2 separate regions of the Homo sapiens genome follow, and region 1 is linked to region 2. The links are contacts of gene promoters, found by promoter capture Hi-C in blood cells and fetal thymus (Javierre and others, 2016). All regions are on one chromosome and are shown on one strand. Each heading gives the region's core, a stretch centred on a gene start or on the middle of the fragment in contact. The rest is flanking DNA. Distances are from core to core; before and after follow the strand shown.

Region 1 (6,160 bases), core at 1,508-4,007, 820 kb after region 2:
GCAGTCATCACCTTGAGCTAGCTTAGGGGTAAAACATACCCTCTTACAGTCTCATTCCACCAAAGTTAACATGTATTGAGGACTTACCAGGGGCCAGGTCTTAACTTCATCATGTCTTCTAATCCTCAGAGCAACACTAAGGCAGGTAGGGAGTGGGGCTGGGGTTCAAGCCCAGGCAGATCTGCTCCTGGGGGTGGGTGGGGGGTGGTTATTCTCACTGTAGAGAACTCACTAAGGCTGCAATTCTTGTGGCCATGTGGGCAGATAGGGCAAACACCAGCCACTGTTTAAGCCTCTGTAGGTCCACAGCCCAGTCCCCACCCACTTACCTAGAAGAGGAGGAGAGAGAGAGGAAGCGTCAGCCAAGGCCCAGCTATTGAGAAAGAGCTCAGCCAGTAGGGGTACTGCCCATCCCCTCACACATCAAAGGCACCTCTAGGGGAAGGAGGACAAAAAGCACCATTGCCTGTGTAGGTGCTGTAAATAAGTATCTTATTTAAGGCCAAGGTGGCTCCTGACTTATCACTGAATCCCCACCCTGCCCCCACCCCAAACCCAGCACAACACCTGGCCCAGAACAGCCTCTAAGTGGACTTGGACTGAATTCACTGGCCTACTGCTAGCACCCACCTTCTCTGCAAGCCTGATCAAGTCAAACAAGACCAGGGATCTTCTCACCAGGGAAGATCTATGCAGAGGCGGCACAGGGTTGGGGGTGCAGGGCATTCTGACACCCCACCTACTGGTCACGCACCCTTGAGTAAGTCGCTCAGCCTCCCTGAGCCTCAATTTCCTCACCTGTAAAATGGGATGAGTCAGGTGTGTGGAGATAGCGAGGAGGCCTTGCAGGGAGCATGCAGGGAGAAGGCATTTGCTCCAGCTCATCTTTAGGAAGCAGAACACAGCTGCCTGTCTGCAGCCTTGCTGCCAGAATCAAATCAGGCAATAAAGGGTTGGGCAACATTAAAAATTGTCAAACAGGAGAGGGAAGCAACAAAAAATGTTTATTGGGTACATACTGTGTGTTTTATCCACCCTTTATCTCCTCTATTCCTCAAATGAACTCCTTCAGATAAATACTAATACCCTAAATGTACGGATGAGGAAAATGAAACTCACAGAGACCAGGGGCGGGTGGAGGATCCCTCCAAGTTCACGCTGGAAGTTCAGCTTCAGGTTAGCCTCTGCCCTCCCCCCAGCTATTCGACACTACCTCCTGCAAAGGACTGTGATCTGATCTTTTTAAAAAATGTTTTCTCTTGGTTATCAGTTTTAATTTGTATAGTTATATTATTATCTAAGCATAAAGTAAATTAAAAATCTATTTTATGATCACATAAAATTGACAGGCCAGAATATTAGTGCATGCAATCTGTTTCTAATTAGGAAGTCGATGTGGTATTCAACAAATTAATTGATTCTTTGGTTCTTAAATTGTTGTTTAGTTTCTTTATTCATATACACACACACACACAATTTTATGCACATGTATTAAAATGTGTGTGCACTCTTTTTGTTCCTTTCCTGTTTTTCTTGGCTCCCCTTTTCCCCTCAACCACTGCCACCCACATCAGCCTTCAACCCCACCCCCACAGTAATCTATGTTCATAACTCTGTATGTATCTTTTCATATTGTTGGTGCTTATATAATCTCACAGACACATGCACATGCATTTACATAAATGAGGGATGAGGGGTTGGCTGTTTATTTCACATAAGTGAAATCAATATCCTACATGTACATTTCTGCATTCCACATTTCTCTCTCTCCAATCCCTGGAGGAATCCCTCCTTGCCATCCAATAAATAGCTCCAATTTATTGACTATAATGGCTGCTTAATACTCCAGGGTAGCAGTGGACCATTATTTATTCCACCTGTCCACTATCAACTTTTAAAAATGTGTTTGCCACCTTCTGTCACTACAAATAAACAGCAGTAAATATCTTTGCACATATGCCTTTTTATACTGGTCTGTTATTTCTATTAATTTAAAATTAAGTGAAGTCCCTTAAATAATTTGAAAGTCATCTTTGCTGTATAATCACATATAACAAAGCTGGAAAAGAACCTGGTAGAATAAAAGGTCTGGTGACAGAACAATGGATGAGTGTTTTCATTTTCTATATTTCCTTTTGTTTCGTCACACTATTCATATGGTAGATAAAAGCTAGAGACGTATGGGATTTTTTCTGTTGTTTTTTGTTGTTGTTGTTTGAGACAGGGTCTCACTCTGTCACCCAGGCTAGAGTGCAGTGGCACACTCTCGGCTCACTGCAACCTCCACCTCCTTGATTCAAGCGATTCTCCCACCTCAGCCTCCCAAGTAGTGGGGCTATGGGCACGCACCACCACGCCTGTCTAATTTTTGTATTTTTTGGTAGAGATGGAGTTTCACCATGTTGGCCAGACTGCTCTCAAACACCTGACCTGAGGTGATCCTCCCTCCTAGGCCTCCCAAAGTGCTGGGATTACAGGCGTGAGCCACAGCACCAGGCCGACGCATGAGTTTTATGTGTAACAATCCTAACATGGTAGGAGAAAGAGGGACCCTTGCAATCAACAGTGTGTTAACTAGGGGTGAAGTCAGAAATGGCGTCTCCTGGATAGCTGCCACTATTGCTTTAACACCCCTTGATCTGCTCAAAGCCCTTCGGGGGTCTTGGACTGTTGGGGATTCCAGGATGCAGACAGCACATCAGAGGAGGGGCCAGATAAGGAGCTCCACTGCCTCATGCCTCAGTTCTGTAGATGGGGCTCCATCCCTCCAGGGCTCAAGAAGATATTTGCTTTCACATCCATGCCAGCTTGTCAATACCTACCCATGGAGACCTCCCTGTGCCAACACAATGAGAAGCACATGGAACCCAGAGAAGCCTGCCCTCAAGAAATTCTTCTGAGCAAGTTCTGTGGAGTCCTGAAAGAGCAGAGACTTCTAAACCAAACCTCCACGGCCTGACTCCACAAGTCTTTACTGAGTGTCCTTTATGGGCTGGGTACCATCCAGGGGCTGTTGGTAACTAGCAAAACAAAAGTTTCATTACTGTTTATGTTTCGGGGAGCAGACAGAAGGTCTTAAACAACAAGCTACAGCAGTGAAAAGACAAGCACAAGAAATTGCTTATCTCATACACTAGGAGGGACACTGAGCTTATTAGAGCTCTCAGAAACAATGGACCCAAAGAAAGCAGAGCTTTACAAGCATACCACTCATTCATTTACAACAGCAGATGCACTTTATGGGCTGCCATTAATTCTCACTCTAGTCATTGTTTTTGCACCTCATGCAATTATCTAAAACAATATTTGCCGAACTTTGACAGTAAGTCAAGCATAAGGAATCTGAAGGTACCTTCAAATTAGACAGATTTCAAGGAACACTGGGAGTTCTCAACCTTCTCAGCTCAGGTGCCAGGATCTTAGGAAGTGGGAAAGACCAGGCAAGAGCAAAAGGCAGTCTGATTTGGGGCTTGAATCATAGTTTGAGAAATCCAGGCAGCAAGCCATTTCCAGATGGAAATTCTGGTTCCCTTATTGAAGGGAAAACTCATATTTCTGCACAATATTGTCCTTCTGTTTAAAAGGGGCTCATGATTTGTTTCTACAAGATAACAGCAATGAAGAAGAGATAAGTGATTTCTGCTCTCCGGGAGTTTTGCTAAGTGACTGTGAGACCCCAAGAAAGTTTTTTTTTTAATTTTCCTTTAACTACTGTAAACCTGAATTTCTGCATCTGTCAGGTAGAGGCCTTTCGTGATGAGCTTTCCAAGGATCTGCTCCTGGGGGTTAGGCACTCGGAAGATACGGGTACAGACAACTTCTTTAAAATAGCACCCATGCCCAGGCTGGGCATGGTGGCTTACGCCTGTAATCCCAGCACTCTGGGAGGCCAAGGCAGGCAGATCACTTGAGGCCAGGAGTTTGAGACTAGTCTGGCCAACATGGTGAAATCCTGTCTCTACTAAAAATACAAAAAAAAAAAAAAAAAATTAGCTGAGTGTGGTGGCACACACCTGTAGTCCCAGCTACTCAGGAGGCTGAGGTATGAGAATTGCTTGAACCTGGGAAACAAAGGTTGCAGTGAGCTGAGATCGCACCATTGCATTCCAGCCTGGGTGACAGTGAGACTTTGTCTCAAAAAATAAATAAATAAATAAATAAAATAAAATAAAATAGCACCGCATGCCCAGTTGGAGGGTATTCTACATCCTCTGTTCTGACATCTCATTAATGAACAACTCATGAAAGTGTGTGCCAGCCCAGGAGTTGTTTAGTAACCCAGGCCAGGACTATGTCTCTGTGTAAGGGTCCTTCCACAACATCATCTTTAAAAGAATCAGCTGAATCAATTTACCAAAGAGGTTTTTAAAGATAATACTCACAGTTGATGAGCATGTTTTGAAATAGGCACTCCCATTCCCTGCTGGCAAGATATGCAAATTGGCACAATTTCTCTTTAAATCAATTTGGCCATTCAAATCGAGAATCTTAAAACATCTGTATCTTCTCATCTAGTATACATCTAGGAATCTAGCCTAAGGAAATAATCAAAAATATTTGTGGGAGCTGAGGCAGGAGAATCGCTTGAACTCGGGCAGCAGAGGTTGCAGTGAGCCAAGATCATGACATTGCACTATCCAGCCTGGGCGACACAGTGAGACTCTGTCTCAAAAAAAAAAAAAAAAGAATGAAAAATGGTATAGACATTTAGTGTAATTGTTGTTGTAATTATAGTTGGTAAGATATGTTTACTTCATTTTTACTTCATTTATACATATATATGTATAAGTACATAAATATATATGCATAAATGTATTTTATTTATACATATATGCATAAATGTATATATGTATAAATGTGTATATATATGTACACAGTCACGGATTACTTTACAACAGGAACGCATTCTGAGAAATGCATTATTAAATAATTTTGTCATTGTGTGAACACCATACAGTGTACTTACAAAGACCTACATGGTATAACCTACTTCATACCAAGGCTAGATGGTATAGCCTATTGCTCCTAGGCTATAAACTTGAACAGCAGGTTACTGTGCTGAATACTATAGGCAATTGTAACTCAGTGGTTGGTATTTGTGTATCTAAACCTATCTAAACACAGAAAAAGTACAGTAAAAATGTAGTATTATAATCTTATGGGACCACTCGTGTGTATGTGTGTGTATATATATATATATATATATATATATATATATATATATACCATCCATCACTGAAAAACAACATGTTGTTATATGGTGCATGAGTGTATATATAGAGAGACAGAGAGAAAAACTTGTAAAAATACTATCAGTGGTTACCTTTGGTATCGAGATTTGGGGTTCGCTCTGAGTCATAGGCTCACCCTAGGGCTTGGGAGACAGGGTGACCAGAAAAAGGGAAACACATTCGCTAAACTACCAATAATGCCAACAATGATTGTGCATTATAGAGTAATGAATCAGGCTCAGCAGCCTTGAAAGATGAATATGGTTTTGTCATGTAAAGCAGAGACTTCAGATTAAACTCAGGTTAAACTTGCAGTTTATCTTCACCTCCTAAACACTACTAAAATTACTATAAATGGATAAAACCCATGGGGTCAAAGAGATCAGGAAACTAGATTATAGCAATCAAGTTTTGGAATCTGGAAAACAAAGACAAATAAAGCCCAGCGCTTGCCCAGAGAGAAGCCAAGAGGCAAAGCATATTTACACTCTGGAACTTTTTAACTCTGAATTTTTAAGAACTCTGGAAACTCTCTGGAATAGGGGGCACCAGGTACCTCTGACAGTGAGGAACAAGTGAACTAGAAATGGGAGGGTGAGCTAGAGATCTGTATAAAAAGCAGAGAGGCGGCCGGGCACGGTGGCTCATGCCTATAATCCCAGCACTTTGGGAGACCGAGGCAGGTGGATCACGAGGTCGGGAGATTGAGGCCATCCTGGCTAACACGGTGAAACCCCGTCTCTACTAAAAATACAAAAAATTAGCCAGGTGTGGCGGTGGGCACCTGTAGTCCCAGCTACTCAGGAGATTGAGGCAGGAGAATGGTGTGAACCCGAGAGGCGGAGCTTGCAGTGAGCCGAGATGGTGCTACTGCACTCCAGCCTGGGGGACAGAGCGAGACACCATCTCGGAAAAAAAAAAAAAGCAGA
Region 2 (6,152 bases), core at 5-2,504:
TTGAGGAAATATTTAAGATGCATTTCAAAGTTCCTTGAAATAAAATTACCCATGAAATTATAGTAATATTTCTGGCATCTGTCTCTAATAATCAGACCATTCTTTTGAAGATGGGTAATTTAAGTATGGTCTCTCTCTCTGTCTTTTATTTTGAGACCGAGTCTCGCTCTGTTGCCCAGGCTGGAGTGCAGTGGCACGATCTTGGCTCACTGCAACCTCCACCTCCCAGATTCAAGTGATTCTCCTGCCTCAGCCTCCCAAGTAGCTGGGATTACAGGCATGTGCCACCACGCTCGGCTAACTTTTGTAGTTTTAGTAGAAACAGGGTTTCACCATGTTGGCCAGGCTGGTCTTGAACCCCTAATCTCAAGTGATCCACCTGCCTTGGCCTCCCAAAGTGCTGGGATTACAGGCTGAACCACTGTGCCTGGCTGGGTATGGTCTCTTGTATTTCCCACCCCAAGCATTAAAAAAAGCTCTTTCTATGGGAAAGCCTATAAATATATAACTGGAGACACTGGACAGCTTTTGATATTTTAATATTACCAAAAGCATATACCTAATACTACATGATGGACGTGCCATGTTCAAATATTAGAATTTATTAGAAATTATTTTTAATATTGAAAATGAACTCCTAAAATTTAGAAGCTGAGGGCAAAGCCCTGTTATTGTGATAGCTTATACATTTGTGCATCTGTGAGTGGCTAAACACTCTCAGGAGTGCTAACACTCACGCCATGGCGTTTCTTACCTGGTTCTTAAGTTCGTCAATAATTGGGAAATATCTGCTGTAATCATGATCAAGGCCACGGCAAGAACCAGGTCCAAATTTCTCATACCACCCCTTGATCTTCTGCTCCAAGTCAGCGTTGGCCTCCTCTAGGGCTCGAACATTCTCCAGGTAGGAGGCCAAGCGGTCGTTGAGGTTCTGCATGGTCACCTTCTCATTGCCAGAGAGGAGGCCGTGCTCATTCCCTGTGAAGGCAGCACAGGAAGCACTTCCCCCGCCCAGACCTCCGCCATAGCCTCCTGCAGATGAGCTGCCCCCAAAAGCACAAGAGAAGCCACTTCCAATGCCTGGCACACCGCATGTGTTTCCAGCCCCAAAGCCTGCTCCCCCACTAGAGAGCCTCACAGAGCCAGTGCCCCCGCAAGAGCCAAGTCTCCTGGAGGTAGAAGAAAAGCGCACAGACATGGTGTCCGGAGGCTGGAGCCTTTGTTTCTGCGGTGATGCTCTGATGGTGAACGGCCTACTCAAACAGCTTGGTTTGCCTTTATATACACATTATTAGGGTGTTTCTTGATGAGCTTTGCTCATAGCCAAATGATGTTTGCCAGCTCATTGTGAATTATCCATAATGGGGTGATTTTTTTTTTTTTTTAATGAATGGCTTTACCATACTGTGTCCATTTCTGTAGGTGGATAGTTATTGTGGGGTTATTTGTTATCTCTGGAGTTGGACAGGGTGGAGTATTATCAGGATTATTATAGTGATGCATTTCAAATTTAGTATGAGTAACTCTTCCTGTCTTCCAGGCTTCAGGAATGCATAATACCTATAAGAATAAAAAAGTATGATAGACAGATTTCTCTTTCCCTTGCTCAAATCAGCATTGCATTTTCTTCAGCAATGAAGTATCATAGTATCAGAAGAAGGAGGGGAGGTCCTAAAGGAAAACTGAGGCATTAAAGGGAATCTTCTTTGGAGACAGAAAGTGTTCCTTTGATCCTTATCCTTCCTGAATTACCATTTCATCTGTACTGGTTTTCTGTCTAAGTTCCATTGCTAACCAGGTTAAGTAAAGGAATTGGTCACCTCCTCGGGCCTCAGTTTCCACATCTGTAAAGTGAAGGGTCTAGACTGTGGTCTCTATATTCACTTTCTGTCTGTAGATTGCTCATATTTCTGCATTCCTTCTATTGGCTGTCCATTTCCATAGCACTTTTCTGCATTGCTTCTTGTACTTTTCACCTCTTATTTCTGAATTGTGGTCCCACTATTTTACTGAAATTAACCTCTCAGACATCACTGCACATCTCTAATCATCATTTCTTTTATTTTTTCCCCTATACCCTCTTGGTTACATTCAATACTGACAACCTCAGTCTGATGAGTCTGATCGAGTTTCAGACAGTTGCTTTCTAAGAAATTTTCTACATCTCATGTTGCTCCCCTTTTCTCTTCCACTTATAGCTCCTGTGCCCTACCTTTGTCATTTCTTATAGTTTTGTGCTTGGTATTTACGACTCTCTCTCTTTTTTTTTTTTTTTTGACAGGGTCTCGTTTTGTCACCCAGGCCAGAGTGCAGTGACATGATCACAGCTCACTGCAGCCTCAACCTCCCAGGCTCAAGTGATCCTCCCACCTCAGCCTACCAAATATCTGGGACTACAGGCACACGCCACTATGCCTGGCTAATCTGTGTATTTTTTTGTAGAGTTGGGGTTTGCCATGTTGTCCAGGCTGGTCTTGAATGCCTGGGCTCGACAGATCCTCCCACCTTGGCCTCCCAAAGTGCTGGGATTATAGGCAGGAGCCACCTCACTGTCTTAATGTAAATTTTCCCGCACTGACTTGTCCGTTCTGTTTTACTACTTCCCTCTTTCCCATCTCTTTGCCTTTGTTCATGTTATTCTTTCCACCTGGTTTTCTTCTTCAGACTAAAAATTATAACAAATCATTTGAGATCTTGCATTTGCCAAGAATGATTGACATCACTTTCAATTACCTAGATTGAAAATGAAGTTGGCAAAAATATAAATTTTCATGACTTAATAAATGAGCTTGCGGAAAAAAAGCCAGAAAGATTTGTCAATCAATTTAATACATTATTAAAGTATTATGGTTTATTGTTTTACATAAAATTAGGACACCAAAACATTATTTCTTTGCTGTTTGTAGTTTATGCTGTTATATATGTGTACCCGTTACCTCATTACATGTTATAAATAATAAGACTTTTTAGAAGAAAAAGATTTATATTTTACTATTTCTTTTTTTTTTTTTTTGAGATGGAGTCTCGCTCTGTCGCCCAGGCTGGAGTGCAGTGGTGCCATCTCGGCTCACTGCAACCTCTGCCTCCCGAGTTCAAGTGATTCTCCTGCCTCAGCCTCCCAAGTAGGTGGGATTACAGGTGCCTGCCACCATGCCCGGCTAATTTTTGTATTTTTAGTAAAGACGGGGTTTCACCATGTTGGCCAGGCTGGTCTCAAACTCCTGACCTCAGACCACCCACCTTGGTCTCCCAAAGTGTTGGGATTATAGACTTGAGCCACCGCGCTGGACCTATTTTAATATTTCTAACTGAACTTTTTTTCTGACTTTTCAACAGGAGACCTCACATTTTCATTTTGCACTGGGCCTTGTAAATTATGTAGCCAGCCCGAATTGTTGGGTCTCTCTGAGGAAGCTGAAGAATCTCAGAGAAAATACCTCCAGATAGAATTGTTTGAGTGTTCTCCACAAAAAGGGAGCTCACTGTACAACCACTCTGGAAGGAAACACAGACACTTCACACAAAGCTTTCAAATGTTTAAGGTCTTACTCAAAACGAACATAATTTAAAATATCACGATACATTGAAAAACACTCCAACAAGAAAGACAGAGACTCAAACAAACAAAAAATAGCACTCAGGGGAAACAGAGATAATGAAGAACGTTGAAGAAAACTTTAAAAAAGAAACTACCTATAATTATTACTTTCAGAAGTAACAAAAATACTGTATATTTAAAACATGGATAGAACATCATTAAAATTGAACAGGAAGCACATAAAAGACCTCTTAGAATTAAAAACTAAGTCCCAAAAGAAAACTTCAATAGATGAATTGGAAAATAAATTTAAAAAAAAACTCCCCAAAATTAGAACAAAAAGATGAAAAGATAAATATGTGAGCCTTGAAAGAGCCAGTCTCTCTCTCTCTCTGTTTTTTTTTTTGAGACTGAGTCTTGCTCTGTCACCCAGGCTCGAGTGCACTGGCGCGATCTTGGCTCACTGCAACCTCCACCTCCCAGGTTCAGGTAATTCTCCTGCCTCAGCCTCCCAAGTAGCTGGGATTACAAGCACATGCCACCATGCCTGGCTAATTTTTGTATTTTTAGCAGAGATGGGGTTTCACCATGTTGGCCAGATTGGTCTCGAATGCCTGACCTCAAGAGATCCGCCAGCCTCGGCCTCCCAAAGTGCTGGGATTACAGGTGTGAGCCACCGTGCCTGGCGTAAAGAACCAGCCTCTTAAGATGAGTCCTGAGCAGCTAACTGGGCCTAAATTCAAATTAAAACCAAGCAACCATTTGCTGACTACAGGTCACATATTTACTCTGAGTTCCCAGAAAATGTGCACATCTGCTTAACTTTGGGACTTTCATAGCTTCCAGTTTATGCCACCTGAACCAAACAATAGGCTGTAACCTACATGGATCAATCAGAAGTCTGCATGCCCTGACTAATAAGAGCTAACTAAGCAAACATCAACCAACCAGAACTAAGTAAATTTCAATCCTGCATTTTGCATAAGCAGACCTAAGTGGGAACCTGGGTGGGAACTTTCTCTAAAAGACAAATTCCCTTCCTTTGTTCTCTGGAACACATTTTCATTTTACACCAAAGGCTGTGTCTCACCAGCTTGCTAGCTGTTTGCTGGAATGAAGTCTCTGTCCTTGAATTTCCTTCTCAGAGAACTTGTTTACAGATAAAAGAAAATATTAGAAAATGAGAGACTTGGGCCGGGCGCGGTGGCTCACTCCTGTAATCCCAGCACTTTGGGAGGCCGAGGTGGGCGGATCACGAGGTCAGGAGATCGAGACCATCCTGGCTAACACGGTGAAACCCTGTCTCTACTAAAAATACAAAAATATTAGCCGGCGGTGGTGGCGGGCGCCTGTAGTTCCAGCGGCTGAGGTAGGAGAATGGCGTGAACCCGGGAGGCGGAGCTTGCAGTGAGCCGAGATCGCGCCACTGCACCCCAGCCTGGGCGACAGAGTAACACTCCATCTCAGAAAAAAAAAAAAAAAAAAAAAAAAAAAAAAAAAGAAAAAGAAAATGAGAGACTTGGTCAAAGAAGAACAACATCAAGTAGGTCTTCTGGAAAGAGAGAAGGGAGAAATCATGAAGAAATTATTTTATAAACATATTTTCTGAAATACTACTCAGAACTAAACAACTGAGCTTCTAAATTCAAAGAGACCACCAAGAACCATGAATGATAAATGAAAAACATCCACAGTGAGGCACATCCACAGGATCTTTCAGAGAACCATGGCTGGGGGCGGGGGCGACAAACAAACACTTAAAATGTCAGGAGCAAAACCAACACATATTCAATTTTAGGAAAGCCATCATTCTAGTGAAGAATGCTTTCAAAATACGAACCCAGGCCAGGCGCAGTGGCTCACGCCTGTAATCCCAGCACTCTGGGAGGCCGAGGGAGGTGGATCACTTGAGATCAGGAGTTCAAGACCAGCCTGGCCAACATGGTGAAACCCCGTCTCTACTAAAAATACAAAAATTAGCTGGGCCATGGTGGTATGTGCCTGTAATCCCAGCTATTTGGGAGGCTGAGGCAAGAGAATTGCTCGAACCCATGAGGCGGAGGTTGCAGTGAGCTGTGATCACACCACTGTACTCCAGCCTGGTTGACAGAGCGAGATGCTGTCTCTTAAAAAAAAAAAAAAAGTGAACGCAAAATGATATCCAACCTTTTATTTCTAATCCTTTCCTAAGGTTTGTCACCTCATTTCTAAGTTTTTTTCTAATTGTGACTTATGTAGAGAACCAAAATTCTCTACTTTAACAACCACAAGTGAGGGTGGAATAAAAATCTTTTCCGACATGAAAGGTCTCAAAAAAATTATCTCTTTTGCACATTTTGTCAGGAAGCCACTAGAGAGAAAAACATGAAAAAGGAAAACTTAGGTTCCTGGAAATGGAGTTCCAATGTGAGCGCACTGAGTGAGTGTTCCCACATGACAGCTGGGTAGCAGGCTTAAAAAACAGCCAATGTTGCATAGGAGGACAGGAGATTCTGAAAGTGAGCACTTCAGGGGGATAGATGAAAATGATTTCTTGGTAGTTTTAATTGCATAAGAAAGTGGCATGAGAGATAAAGATACGGAGAAAACAGGGGTTAAACTACTTAGAAAATCG

What was found. Contacts are between HindIII fragments. The CHiCAGO score rates a contact against its expected background, and 5 or more counts as called.
Region 1: a contact is called between a fragment that was not itself captured here and the fragment with the promoter of KRT27 in region 2, in 1 of 17 cell types (monocytes). The highest score is 5.9, in monocytes.

The regions. Positions count from the first base shown.
Region 1 is chr17:41,599,541-41,605,700 of GRCh38, forward strand. No RefSeq gene overlaps it. Among named protein-coding and RNA genes, the nearest start is that of KRT16, 10 kb to the right of the region's middle. The HindIII fragment of the contact is 9,356 bases long and covers 1-6,160 here.
Region 2 is chr17:40,781,296-40,787,447 of GRCh38, forward strand. KRT27 (keratin 27) reads right to left here and starts at 1,255. Exons shown (of 8, transcript NM_181537.4): 1 at 755-1,255. The coding sequence starts at 1,198. The HindIII fragment of the contact is 4,282 bases long and covers 1-3,524 here.